3 separate regions of the Homo sapiens genome follow, and regions 1 and 2 are each linked to region 3. Evidence: promoter capture Hi-C in 16 types of primary human blood cells and fetal thymus (Javierre and others, 2016). All regions are on one chromosome and are shown on one strand. Each heading gives the region's core, a stretch centred on a gene start or on the middle of the fragment in contact. The rest is flanking DNA. Distances are from core to core; before and after follow the strand shown. Region 1 overlaps MCCC2 (methylcrotonyl-CoA carboxylase subunit 2). Region 2 overlaps BDP1 (BDP1 general transcription factor IIIB subunit). Region 3 holds the start of CENPK (centromere protein K).

Region 1 (4,715 bases), core at 1,591-4,090, 6.0 Mb after region 3:
CTATGGTTGAAAAGATGGGGTGGGAAACTTGTCAGTGGCTCAGCTCCAATTCATTATGACTGTCAGGCACTAACCTCTGTGGTTGCTCAGCTTCACAAGAAAATTACTAGGTTGTAGAATGTTGTTTCGCAGGTGATTAAAACACACACACACACACACACAAACACAAACACCTGGCGTCCTGAGAGATCAAGATTTGCCAAATGCAGTATCAGTAAGTAGGGAAACTGAAAGTTGAACTTGGTTTTGCCACTAAACTACACTGCCTCTTGGTTAGTGAGTCTCATCCTAAGGAGGCTAGGTTGGTTGATAAAGGATTGCCTGGGAGGTGAACTGTAGCCAGTACTGGCTCTTCTGTGATTTAAGTCTGATGGGCTGAGCTTGGCACAGATGTTGCCCAGTCTGTAGAGGCAAATGTCAGCTTCAGTGGGTCAGTGCTTTTCTTCTTTGACCCACTGGTTGCTTAAAAGTACGTTGTTTAATTTCCATATATTTGTGAATTTTCCAGTCATCCTTCTGCCATTGATTTCTAGTTTCATTCCATTGTGATTGAAAGGATACTTTTGGGCCAGGCATGGTGGCTCAGGCCTGTAATCCTAGCGCTTTGGGAGGCCGAGGCTGGTGGATCACCTGAGGTCAGGAGTTCTAGACCAGCCTGGCCAACATGGTGAAACCCTGTCTCCACTAAAAATAAAAAAATTACCTGGGCATGGTGGCGCACGCCTGTAATCCCAGCTACTTGGGAGTGTGAGGCAGGAGAGTCGCTTGAACCCGGGAGGCGGAGGTTGCAGTGAGCTGAGACTGTGCTACTGCACTCCAGCCTGGGCGACACGGCCAGACTCCGTCTCAAAAAAAAAAAAAAGGATACTTTGTATGATTTCAGTCTTTTAAAATTTATTAAGATTTGTTTTGTGGCCTGACATGTAGTCTATCTTGGAGAATGTTGCCTGTGCACTTGAGAAAAGTTACATACTTTTTTCTGCTGTTGTAGGGTGACAAGTTCTGTATATTGTGTTAGCTCCAACTGGTTCTTTCCCTAATACCATGCTGCTTCCTTGTTTTTTATTTTCTGGATTTTGCAGAGCAAGAGAATGTAGCAGAAATCATGACCCTCAGAGCTCTTGGAGCTGTAGAAAATAGGAAATAATGGAGATATACTGTAGACTGAATATTCATCTAAGTTTGAACAGTTAGGAAGTTGCTTAGTGTTCTGTCAAACAGAAGGAACTAAATAACTAGAGATGCTAATCACATGGGGAGCAAAATGTATTAGTGGGCCAAGTCTGAATTTCAAAGATAATTAGCTAGTTAAGTATTGTTCTAAAGTAATATGCTGACCAAACAAAATTTAAAAATACAGAAGGGTGAAAAGTTAGTCCCTCTACCTCTTTTCTACTTCTCACTGTCAATATTTCCTTGTGTATTACTTAATTTGTGTATATATGCCAGCATAGAGTTTTGTTCTGTTTTTTTTTTTTTTTTTTTGAGATGGAGTTTTGCTCTTGTTGCCCAGGCTGGAGTGCAATGATGCAATCTTGGCTCACTGCAACCTCCGCCTCCCGGGTTCGAGGGATTCTCCTGCCTCAGCCTCCCGAGTAGCTGGGATTACAGGCAAGCACCACCTTGCCTGGCTAATTTTGTATTTTTTAGTAGAGACGAGTTTTCTCCATGTTGGTCAGGCTGGTCTCGAACTCCCGACCGTAGGTGATCTGCCCGCCTCGGCCTCCCAAAGTGCTGAGATTACAGGCGTGAGCCACCACGGCTGGCCGAGTTTTGTTCTTTTTACTAATTTATTTATTTATTTGAAACAGTCTTGCTCTGTCACCCAGGCTGGAGTACAATGGCACGATCCTAGTTCACTGCAGCTTCAAACTCCTGGGCTCAAGAGATCCTTCCACCTTAGTTGGTCAAGTCGCTGGGACACACCACCATGCCCAGATAATTTTTAAATTTTTATTCTTTTTATTTTTATTCTTTTTGTAAAGATGGAAGTCTCCCTATGTTACTCAGGCTGGTCTCAAACTCCTGGGCTTAAGCGATGCTCCTGCCTCCGCCTTCCAAAGCTCTGGGATAACAGACATAAGCCACCACACTCAGCCTGTTCTTTTTAAAACATAAAATAGGATCCTTGGCCAGGTGCGGTGGCTCATGCCTGTAATCCCAGCACTTTGGGAGGCCGAGATGGGCAAATCACTTGAGGTAAGGAGTTTGAGATCAGCCTGGCCAACATGGCGAAACCCGGTCTCTATTAAAAATACAATAATTAGCTGGGCATGGTGGCACACACCTGTAGTCCCAGCTACTTAGGAGGCTGAGGCAGGAGAATCGCTTGATCTCGGGAGGCGGAGGTTGCAGTGAGCCGAGATTGCACCATTGCACTCCAGCCGGGGCAACAAAGGGAGACTCTGTCCCAAAAAATAAAAATACAAAATTAAAAATAAAAATAAGATCCTTTTTCTCCCTCTGGGATTTGTTTTTAAGTGTACTTTGTCAGTAAGCAAGCATTGGTTGGAATCTCAGATAGTGACTGATGGGACAGGAAAAATAAGATGGTATTCTAACCTTCAAAAAGCTTATATTCCTTAAAATAGGAAAACAAATAGAGATCAGTTTAAGTTCAGAAGGTGTTTAAGGAAGAAAGATGTTAAATTGAGTAGGAGTGGCCAGAAGTAGAGTTGAAGATGAGATAAAACATGAATTAGGCTTACAGAGGAGTAAGATATGGAGAGATGGACAAGTGGGGTGGTGAAGAAGAGCTTGAACAAGACAGGCAGGGGTGAATCTTTTCCATACGATCCAGTGGCCCAGCGTGGCTGCCACAGATGGGGTGGCCCAGTGTGGCGGCCACACAGAGTTGGCACAGACCACTGTTTTTTTTTTTTTTTTGACCTTTATTTTGGTAAAAAGGAATTGCTTTCTAATATTTCTCTCCCCTGTCTCCTCTATTTCTGTTTTAGGAGAACTACAAGCAGATGAAAGCACTAGTAAATCAGCTCCATGAACGAGTGGAGCATATAAAACTAGGTAAACACAGCATTTATTCCACAGCTTATGCCTTTACTTAAGATGTCCTAAAATAGTTATTGCTTTTAGGAAAAATACTGGAATTAAGCTTTTGATATTTTTTTTTTTTTTTTGAGATGGAGTCTTGCTCTCTTGCCCAGGCTGGAGTGCAGTGGCGCCATCTCAGCTCACTGCAACCTCCGCCTCCTGGGTTCAAGCCATTCTCCTGCCTCAGCCTCCCAAGTTGTTGGGATTACAGGTGCCTGCCTCCATGCCTGTCTAATTTTTGTATTTTTTAAATAGAGACAAGGTTTCACCATGTTGGCCAGGCTGGTCTTGAACTACTGATGTCAAGTGATCCATCTGCCTTGGCCTCCCAAAGTGCTGCAATTATAGGCGTGAGCCACTACTCCTGGCTGAGCTTTTGACTCTTAAGACTATGCATTTGTTGGTATGCAGGCATTTAATTTTATTTTTCCTATTACTTGGCCAGTTTTTCTCTTCATAGAGTACTACCACTTTTGGGGGGAAAAGTAAAGATTCAAATTCATAAATTTTATGAATAAATAATTTATTTTTAATTTTTATTAATTTTTTTTTTAAGAGATGGGTTCTTGCTCTATTGCCAGGCTGGACTGAACCCCTGGCTCAAGCGATCCTCTCATCTTGGCCTCCCAAAGTGCTGGGATTACAGGTATGAGCCACCACACCTGGCCAGTGATTTCTTAGTAGGCATTTAATATTTCCTCCCTAAGTGCTGAATCTCAGATGGAAAGCATTCTTCATATTTGATAGACTGTTTCAGATAACTTTTATCAACAAGTATATAATACTTAAAATTGTATATAATACTTTTAATGTAAAATTTTACATTTAGGTTAGAGTAGTTTAAATACTGGATCTCAGGAGTATAAAAATAGTGAAGAAGACTGGATTTGGAAAGTATGGTCTAGAATTGCTTATTTACTAGTTTATTTAGAGACAGGGTCTCCTCACTCTGTTGCTCGGGCTGGACTCGAAGTCGGGAGCTCAAGTGATCTTCTTGCCTCAGCCTCCCAAGTAGCTGAGACTGTACCTGTGCCCCTGTACGCAGCTATGGAATTCATACTTTTGAAGCCATTTTAGATCAAGGTGTTGTCTCCAGAAAAAGAATTCAAACTCTTGCTGAAATGAAAGTGTTTTGTTAGGGGTGATAACTCAATTGTTATGCCCATTTTGAGAGTTTGATTTGGTGAACTCACTGTCCCCCTTAGACATTAAGATGGTGGGTTTTGGGGCCAGGCACAGTGGCTCACGCCTGTAATCCCAGCACTTTGGGAGGCCGAGGTGGGCGGATCACATGAAGTCAGGAGTTCGAGACCAGACTGAGCAACATGGTGAAACCCTGTCTCTACTAAAAATACAAAATTAGCTGGGTGTGGTGGCGCATGCTTGTAATCCCACCTACTCGGGAGGCTGAGGCAGGAGAATTGTTTGAACCTGGGAGGCGGAGGTTGCAGTGAGCCAAGATGGTGCCATTGCACTCTAGCCTGGGTAACAGAGCGAAATTCCGTCTCAAAAAAAAAAAAAAAAGAGGTGGGTTTGACTCAATGGAGGGTTGAGGAGTCCTGTGGCATCAGGTGCCTGCTGGGGATGGTGGATGCTGAGGAACCGTGGTGCAGGCTGGTGGCCACAGGAGGGTAGAGGACTGAGCCGGACTCCCTGGGGAAGGA
Region 2 (4,734 bases), core at 1,892-4,391, 5.9 Mb after region 3:
TCTATAGATTCTCCGAGAGGAGACCATGTCTTCAAGTGGTGGTAGGGAGAATCGGGGTATGGCAGTCCTGAAGTGAAGAATATCCACACTATTCATTTGAGAATTTAGGTCACTATAGTTTTCATCCTTCTGGAGTGCTTTGCAGGGAAGTGTTTTTGTCTTTCAATTTATAAAATATTTATTTTTTAAAGGAGAAGATAAGTATTGCTTTGGCTTTACCGATTTATGTCAGTGAGTAAGAGTTCTGGTCACTTAATTGAAGTGTGCCTCTTTAACTATGGTGACCGTGTTTCCTGAATAGAGAAGCATGGCTTTAGCGTCATGTATCATATTTGGATTCAGGACTCTTTTAGTCTACAGGTAAACTTTTCTCAGGCAGAATTTGCTCATCTGCAAAATGGGAATAATATTGCCTACTTGGAGCGTTTTGGTGCAGATTGGAGATAATTCATATTAACTACCTTGCAGGGGATATAGCAGAATAGTTGCCCGCAAAAAGTTACTAGTTTTTTAGAAAGGTGATGGAGTAAATTTAAGACATGTTAGGCTAAGATGGTCTCTGTTTCTATATATATGAGGAAATCAGTAAACAGCCTTGTTAAGTGAAGTGAGATAGTACAAATTCTGTTTATGCTGTGATAGGAAGGTGAAACATTTATTTATTTTTGGAACATCTTCCTCTATTGGCCTGAACTGGTGCTGAGTGTATGGTGTTACGTTGATAGTTCAGTGATGGTTAGTAATTTCCAAGTTTATTACATGAATCTGTTTCAAAATTTCTACACAGAAAGGAGATACCGATACTAGTCGCTGTTACATTAATAAAGTTCTCAGAGATTTCGTTAATTATGTGTGAGTGCGTGATGGTTGATAATTTAATAAATTGCCCAAAGATTGTAGTTTTGAGATATTTATGGTCAAGGATATTTAATTTTTTTTTTTGAGTTGACATTTACGTTTGGGGAATATAATTTGTTTTTTAGTCACTTTTTTTGCCATTACTGACTCTGGGAAAGTGGTTTTTTTTTTTTTTTTTAATTAGTTTTTTTTTTAGATGGAGTCTTGCTCTGTCGCCCAGGCTGAAGTGCAGTGGTACGGCTCACTGCAACCTCCACCTCCCGGGTTCTTGCAATTCTCCTGTCTCAGGCTCCCAAGTATCTGGGACTACAGGCGTGCCCCACCACGCCCAACTAATTTTTGTATTTTCAGTAGAGACAGGGTTTCACCATGTTGGCCAGGCTGGACTCGAACTCCTGACCTCAAGTGATCCACCTGCCTCAGCCCAAAGTGCTGGGGTTACAGGTGTGAGCCACCGTGCCCAGCCTCTTTTTATTTTTTTGTGGGTCTTTGCTAGTTGTAAAACTCTATAGGATATATATTCTGTCATTATGCATTCAACATAATTGGGTGAAATGCAGATAATGCATGTATCCATAACAGCTAAGATACGAATTTAAATTGAAGTCTTCCTGGAAAGGTTATTCTATAAGTTAAGGCATTTTCTAATTTTTTATAAGTAATTATAAAATAGGAAAAAAGTAGACTGTTTTTAATTATTGACTTATACCACCTCTTTTCTTGACTTAAGTTGCATTTATAGACCATTCCTGAAATACTTATATCTGAGGTATACCATACCTAATATGCAATTTGGGGTGACTGAGTACTTTTTTTGACTGAAGTTTATTCTGATGGCTGTATAAGTAGAGTTGTACCTGACAAAAGATAAATGATTTCTGCCTCAAAGGGAATTGGGTTTGGCTACTGTAACTAAATGTTTTTCTTCAAATACTGCAATACAGATATTTCAGAGGTTTGGAGTTTTGCATATTTGATTTGACTGACCTCGGGTTGATAAGTAAAGTAAAATGCCGGTAGTTTAGACCAGTTTAAAATGTCAGAGTGAATTAAAATTTTTTTAAATTTTATATAGAAATTAATTATAAATTATTACTTTGTTACTTAGTAATTCAAATTAGGTTGACTAAGCTTTGTTCTGTAAGTTGGTTATTTGTTTTGAGGGGGGTAAGCCTATAATTATGTGCTGTAATGTGCCTAGGGACTTTATGTTTGAAAAAGATTAAGAGTCTATTAGAATTTACGTATATTTAAAAGATTTACTAAACAAATTTTTTTGTAACCTGTCATAATTATCATAAATCTCAAGTTACTAATTTTTTTTTTTTAATTACGAGATTGCAGTTTTGGATTTTCACCAGACTAGGTTTTAAAACTAGCATGTGTAACAGAAGATTCATGTGCCCTCTTTTTTCTTTTTTAATTTCAACAGTACTGAAAAGACTGGTGGTGACAATGATGTTGAAGAATCCAGTAGATCTTCCTCTACTGTTTCACAGAGAAGAAAGCGAATATCAAGTACTTCTAGCCTGGTTAAGTCTAGTGTCAGTGTTCCTTCAGAATCTCATCCCTTATCTACAATTAATCAAGAGGCTCCACAGCCAACTGCCACTTCAACAAAAGAGAAACAGCCATGCTCAGACAGATACCGAATATACAAAGCCCAGAAACTGAGGGAAATGTTAAAAGAAGAATTGAGAAAAGAGAAGGTAAGGGAGGAGAATCAGGATTTTGATGTTGCCTTCTATTTATGTTAGTAAGGAATCATTGGGAAGAAAAGCATTTGTAGCATTTTGATGGGGGAACAAAACCACATAACATCCCTTAGTCAATAGAACATCCCTTCTTGTTAATGGATTGATTGATACACCGTGGACTTAAATTACATTTTTCACTGATAGTAATTTTTACATTATTTATTTATGTTTTCACTGTTTTTGGTGAAGACCACAAATAAGTTTCATACGCATACACATAGATGCACATACACAAACATATTTATAAAATAAACCTTCAGTCTGATTTTTCACATAAAGATGTCCAAGTGATAAGTGATATATTTATTTGAATTAAGACAAGTATAGGCCGGGCGTGGTGGCTCATGCCTGTAATCCCAGCACTTTGGGAGGACTAGGGGGGCAGATCACTTGAGGTCAGGAGTTCAAGACCAGCCTGGCCAACATGGCAAAACCCTGTCTCTACTAAAAATACAAAAATTAGCTGGGCCTGGTGACGTGCATCTGTAATCCCAACTACTGGGGAGGCTGAGGCATGAGAATTGCTTGAACCTGGGAGGTGGAAGTTGCAGTGAGCCGAGATTGTGCCTCTGCATTCCAGCCTGGGTGATAGAGTGAAACTGTCTCCAAAAAAAAGACGAATATAGTTGAGCAGAATGAATTGGTAATGTTTTCTAAATTGACTATGGAAAATTACAAGTGGGAAAAATTTGTGTTATGCATATATTAGAGTCCATGTTCTTTTTAATCTTGAGGATTGATTTCTTTTCTAGAAGGGCAGGTAACAGCAGTAGAGCATGCTGGCCCTGGAGTTAAATACTTAGGGATTGAATCTCAGCTTCATTTCTTTACTAGCTTTGTGACCTTGGGTAATTTAATTAATCTATTTCCTCATCTGTAAAATAGACCAATAATAGTTCAGGTTGAGCATCCCTGAAATTGAAAATGCTCCAAAGTCTAAAATGTTTTGAGTGCCAAAGTGATGCTCCAGGGAAATGCTCATTGGAGCATATTGGATTTCAAATTTTCAGGTTAGAGATGCTCAGCCAGCATGTATTCTGCAAGTATTCAAAAATGTGAAAAAATCCAAAATGTGAATCATTTCTGGTCTCAAGTATTTCAGATAAGAGATGCTCAACCTCTATCTAGCTCATTAGAGGGTTGTGAAGATTAAATGAGTCAATACATGTAAAACACACTTAAACTGGTGTCTTGGGCCTTGTGCAGTGGCTCACGCCTGTAATCCCAGCACTTTGGGAGGCCGAGGTGGGCGGATCACCTGAGGTCAGGAGTTCGAGACCAGCCTGGCCAACATGGTGAAACCCCGTCTCTACTAAAAATACAAACATTATCTGGTTGTGGTGGTGCACGCCTGTAATCCCAGCTACTCAGGAGGCTGAGACAGGAGAATCGCTTGAACCTGGGAGGCAGAGGTTGCGGTGAGCCAAAATCGTGCCATTGCACTCCAGCATGAGTGACAGAGCGAGACTCCGTCTCAAAAAAAACCAACCAAACAAAAAAACTAGTGTCATGAAAATAGTAAGTGTCCAACCAGTGTCAGCTTCTGTTATGAATTATAAAATGCCTCTTAGTTTTTTTTAAATTAAGGGAAGGCATTTTGCTTGGTGCTTTATATCTGTTATCTTATGTAATTATATCAACTATGTGAAGTAGATATCACTGTTTCACACAGGAGAAAACAAGCTTTCAATTTATGTCTTCTAAAATGTAAGCCTCACAACAATTGCTTGAACCTGGAAGGCGGAGGTTGCAGTGAGCTGAAATTGTGCTACTGCATTCCAGCCTGGGCGACAGATCAAAGCCTCTAAAAATGTTTTATGGGTTGGGAATTGGGGGTGGGGGGATTAAAAAAAAGTTCTGTATTTTACAGAAACTGCTTATTTGCTTATTTAATTTATTTTGGGGAATTAAAGATTAAACATTTGCTTCAAGAATTTTACAAAATACACAGAATTTCAAGTCACTACAGGGTAAAAAAAAAGCTGTGTAAGCATAAATTCTCAGTGAGCTATTAAGATGTTTAGTTAGAAGGCATCAGTAAGCATTTTATACATTGAGCTTTATTAGTTTTATTCTTTGGTTATTTATTTAGTTTTGAGACAAGGTCTCACTGTCACCC
Region 3 (4,333 bases), core at 1,774-4,273:
ATTTTTTTTTTAATTCTGCATGGACAAACATCTCATCAACAAAGTTAAAATTTAAAACCCCCAAACCTAGGAGAAATACTTGTAATATATATGGCAACCCAAGACCTAATTTCCTTAATATATAACAAGTGCCTACAAATTCATAAGAAGAAACCAAACAACTCACCATTAAAAAAAATTTAAAAAAGATTACCAAAAAAGTCAGGTTACCAATTACTTTGGAGGAAGAGTGGAAGGGGGAAAAGGGTTGTGGCTGGGATGGGCCAAATGGAGAGATTTCTGAGGTAATTATCAAAGTTTTATTTTTTGACTAGCATGATGGTAAGGGTGTTCACCTCATAATAATTAGTAAACTTTACGTTTATTTTGTGTCTGCATTTTTACAATAAAAAGGTAAACAACAAAAACAATTCAATAGAAACTGGCAAAGAACACAAATGAGGAATTCAAAGAAAAAACAAATACCTTTTAAATACAGAAAAAGTACATTCATAAGCTCATATATAATTTATGAAAATCCAAATTAAACAAGCATTAATTTTCATTCAGAATGGCAATAATGTAAAATTGGTAAGAGATAATACTGGCAAGCATGTGAAATAAGAGGCTTGCACTGTTGGTGGAACAATCACTTTGTATGATAATATCCATCAAAATTTTACATGCATTTCTTGTGATCCAGAAGTTCTATTCTTAGGAATAATCCTAAAGATAGATATGTCTGCATAAGTCTATACAATTATGTTTACTGGCACATTACTTAGAGAAAAAAAAACTTTAAAGGTATGAACTCTGCAACCAGACTATACAGGTTTAAATCTGTTTTGATATTTAAAAGCTATGAGACTTGGGCAAGTCACTTAAACTTTCTATGCCTCAGTTTCCTTTCCTATAAAATGAAGATAATATTAAATACTCCCTAGGGTTATGACAATTAAATGAGTATATAAATATATATATATAAGTACTGTAGCTAGCATATAAAGAGCTTTATCAGTGTTAGCTATTAACAATTTGAATGTCAACTAGTAGAAGGCTGAAAATCTCACCTGCTATACCCATAAGATACAGTTTAAGTTCACAAAGCCAAAATCAGTCATCATGAATTTTAGAATATTTTTAAGCGAAAAAGTCAAACATAAATATTTCTTTACTGACCACCAAAATACATTATCAATATGCAAAAGTAATGCAAAACTCTGCACATGTGGTGGGGGCGGAGGGTGAGGGATAAATATTCAACAAATTATCTGGCTTGGCGATTTAATGTGGCAGTAGAATAAAAACATATAGAAACATTTAAGAGTTTGCTCTCTACCGCTTGAGGATGCAAGATGTAAGCTGTATGTAACCTGGAAGAGGGTCATCAACAGAACCAGAAAATGATGGCACCCAGATCTTGAATCTCCAGCCTCTAGACCTGTGAGAAATAAATTTCAGTTGTTTAATTAAAACACACACACACACACACACACTTAAGAGTTGAACTTTTCCCGTTCCCACATTTTGTATCCTTAAACCTATCTTCCTGGAAAGGGAACAAGTCAACTTTTTGAGGTCCCCAGTTAGGACTACAATACTTAATCATTTATTGAAGAAAAACAGTATCTCTTTATTTAGGGATAATACTATACTTAAAGAAACTCGTACTATTAATTGGGAAAAGATTAATATACATGAAATAAGCAAAAAATACCCACATAATTCTAAAATACATTCATTTATTCAACAAATATGTTAATGTGTGCCATTGGTCAGACACTGGCTTTAGCTGTGTAGATGAAAAAGTCTTTGTACTTGTAGAGCTTCCATTCTCATGCAGACAATATAAATGAATGGATAACTAAATACATGATATGATTTCAGGTAGTCAGAAGTGCTATGAAATGGTAAAGTATACAACACTGCCTGCAAGTACTATCGGAATTCAGGATAGGGAAGCTTAGAAAAACCAACCCGGAAGGAATTAGTCCATAATAATGCTTAATAAATGTTAACTAGCTACATTATTATTATCATTATCATTATCATCTTCATCCTCATTATTGCATTGGTCTCTGAAAGATGAGAAGCTGTAAACATGAAGGCTAAATCGCTGTGGAGATGCTTTCAAGCATAAAAACATAAGAGTAGGAGGCAAGAACGAACAAGGGAAATTTGTGAGACACAAAAGAAAGTAGTCTGATGAGAGCAGAGGGCAGAGAAGAAATGAGACTTGCTAGGTAGAATGGTCAAATAATGGGAACCTTTGAAATAAAATAAAGTGCCTACTATGGGGGGGCAGTTCCTTCCCTGTACGTGGTGCCTATCTCAAGGCAAAAGTAGAGAAGAGATTTACGACGAGGATTTTATTAGGTTGGTGCAAAAGTAATTGCAGAGAAAAAAGAAGTGTTTTACGGAGGTCATTTTGACAAGCTGTATTTGATTTTTTAAAAAAGAGATTAAGATAATACATTTTATGTTATGTGCTTTTTACCTAATTTTTTAAAAATGAAGAAGACAGATGAGGAGGAGGAGAAAGAGTTCAGATGACTGCTAGGAGATGAAATCCTATACCAGAGAGAAGAAAGAAGAGTGACCCGTTCTGCCCTAGGTCTTTTGGTTATTTGAAGTAGCTGCTTCTCCACCCCACCCCCAGAAACAGTAACAAGCACTCACCACCTTCTTCAGAGAGTGTGTGAGAGAATAAAGGTCAGGAGAGAAAACATGTTTAGTGCATCTGAAAGGAAACCCGCGAGTTAACCACTTCCTTCTGTCCCCACCCTTCCATCTTTCTCTAAATATTGGTGAGGTTATGGAGCTTGCGTTGGCGCGCGGGAAGCCGAGAAGAACGGGACTCAAAGCCCGGCTGGGAAGTCAGGTATCTAGTTGGCCGGCGATAAGGGTTTCACCTTCAGGACTGGAGCTCCACAAGATTCAACCGTTATATCAACCTCCCCGGCCCAGGTCTTACCATCACAGCGTCACAAACTCCAGGTCGCCTAGGCGCTGCGCAGGAAGCGCTTGCCAGCCCCGGACTTCTGCGCGCGCTGCATGCCCATTGGATGTGCTCATTCCCACCCCAGCCAATCCCGAAACTCGCTCGGACGCTGACAGAAGACTGCGCCGCTGCTTTGGGATTGGTAGCTGAGTTTTGTGTCGCGCCTTTTCTGACGATGCGAACAACATGGCGGCGGAAAGTGGTAGCGATTTTCAGCAGAGACGTAGAAGGCGCCGGGACCCGGAGGAACCGGAAAAAACAGAACTCAGCGAAAGAGAGCTGGCAGTAGCAGTGGCGGTGTCCCAGGAGAACGATGAGGAGAACGAAGAGCGCTGGGTTGGACCTTTACCTGTGGAGGCAACACTGGCCAAGAAGAGGAAAGGTAGCTGCAGACATAGTACCGGGACGAATTGGAGTGCTGCGTCCGCTGAGTAGGAGGGTTCAAGCCAGATCCGAAGAGGGATGATGTGTGGAGTTTTGTGCCCTCAGAACAGAGGGCCGTCCTCTCACTTCTGGCTACTCCATACTTGCATGTCTTAACGAAATAGTGATTTAAGCGTAGTACAACGTCTTTTTGATAATATCTAACACTTTTGATCATTGATTTGTTATGACAGATGCTAAAACTAACATTTTCCTATTCTTATGTGTTTGGCTCCTCTCATTTACTCCCCACAGCAGCCACATGAAGTTGGAATTTCGAACTCTTATTTAGGTATGCAAAAGGGTACCAGTTCTCTTTAAGGCTTTAGTTCAGGAGTGGTGTTAATGTATTAATGTGTTGGGGCGCGAGAGGAAGGCGGTGCTTATTTCGAATCATGGTAGGTAAAGATAATTTCAACTCTGACACTTCCACTAATAAATTTTCGCATCTAGGGAAAATGACGTAAGCTTCCTAGATCACAGATTTGTTTTCATCCAAAACCCGAAGTCTGTGGTTTTGAAATCACGCTCTTGATACGATGGGCTGAGTCTTTTTGTCACTAACGAGGAATAATCACAAATTATTATCAAATAAAAGGGGTGGGAAAAGGGGTAGATTAAGTTTTCTTGTCTTTGTTGTTTTGTTATCTTGTTTTTCTGTGAAATGTTTTCCTTAAGTATTTAAGACATTTTAAATGTGGTCTAAGCTCAAATCGTACTTTAGCACCTTCCCTTAAAAAACTTCAATGATTTGTCATTATTTTCTCTCTCTTTTTTTTTTTTTTTTTTTTTTTTGAGACGGAGTCTCGCTCTGTCGCCCAGGCTGGAGCGCATGCAGTGGCGCTATCTCGGCTCACCGCAACCTCCGTCTCCGGGGTTCAAGCGATTCTCCTGCCTCAGCCTCCCGAGTAGCTGGGGCTACAGGCGCAC

What was found. The method cuts DNA at HindIII sites, captures the fragments that hold promoters and counts their contacts. A CHiCAGO score of 5 or more calls a contact.
Region 1: a fragment that was not itself captured here is called in contact with the fragment with the promoter of CENPK in region 3 in 6 of 17 cell types (naive CD4 T cells, total B cells, non-activated CD4 T cells and 3 more); the score reaches 15.1 in naive CD4 T cells.
Region 2: a fragment that was not itself captured here is called in contact with the fragment with the promoter of CENPK in region 3 in 8 of 17 cell types (non-activated CD4 T cells, total B cells, naive B cells and 5 more); the score reaches 16.7 in non-activated CD4 T cells.

What each region holds. Positions count from the first base shown.
Region 1 is chr5:71,589,969-71,594,683 of GRCh38, forward strand. MCCC2 (methylcrotonyl-CoA carboxylase subunit 2) reads left to right here. Exons shown (of 17, transcript NM_022132.5): 2 at 2,958-3,024. Among named protein-coding and RNA genes, the nearest start is that of MCCC2, 5.0 kb to the left of the region's middle. The HindIII fragment of the contact is 540 bases long and covers 2,571-3,110 here.
Region 2 is chr5:71,456,289-71,461,022 of GRCh38, forward strand. BDP1 (BDP1 general transcription factor IIIB subunit) reads left to right here. Exons shown (of 39, transcript NM_018429.3): 2 at 2,291-2,567. Among named protein-coding and RNA genes, the nearest start is that of BDP1, 3.0 kb to the left of the region's middle. RefSeq lists an enhancer at 1-150. The HindIII fragment of the contact is 2,309 bases long and covers 1,988-4,296 here.
Region 3 is chr5:65,560,145-65,564,477 of GRCh38, forward strand. CENPK (centromere protein K) reads right to left here and starts at 3,024. Exons shown (of 11, transcript NM_022145.5): 1 at 2,954-3,024; 2 at 1,319-1,420. PPWD1 (peptidylprolyl isomerase domain and WD repeat containing 1) reads left to right here and starts at 3,152. Exons shown (of 11, transcript NM_015342.4): 1 at 3,152-3,362. The coding sequence starts at 3,167. RefSeq lists enhancers at 2,279-2,940, 2,661-2,800, 2,941-3,601. The HindIII fragment of the contact is 1,930 bases long and covers 1,940-3,869 here.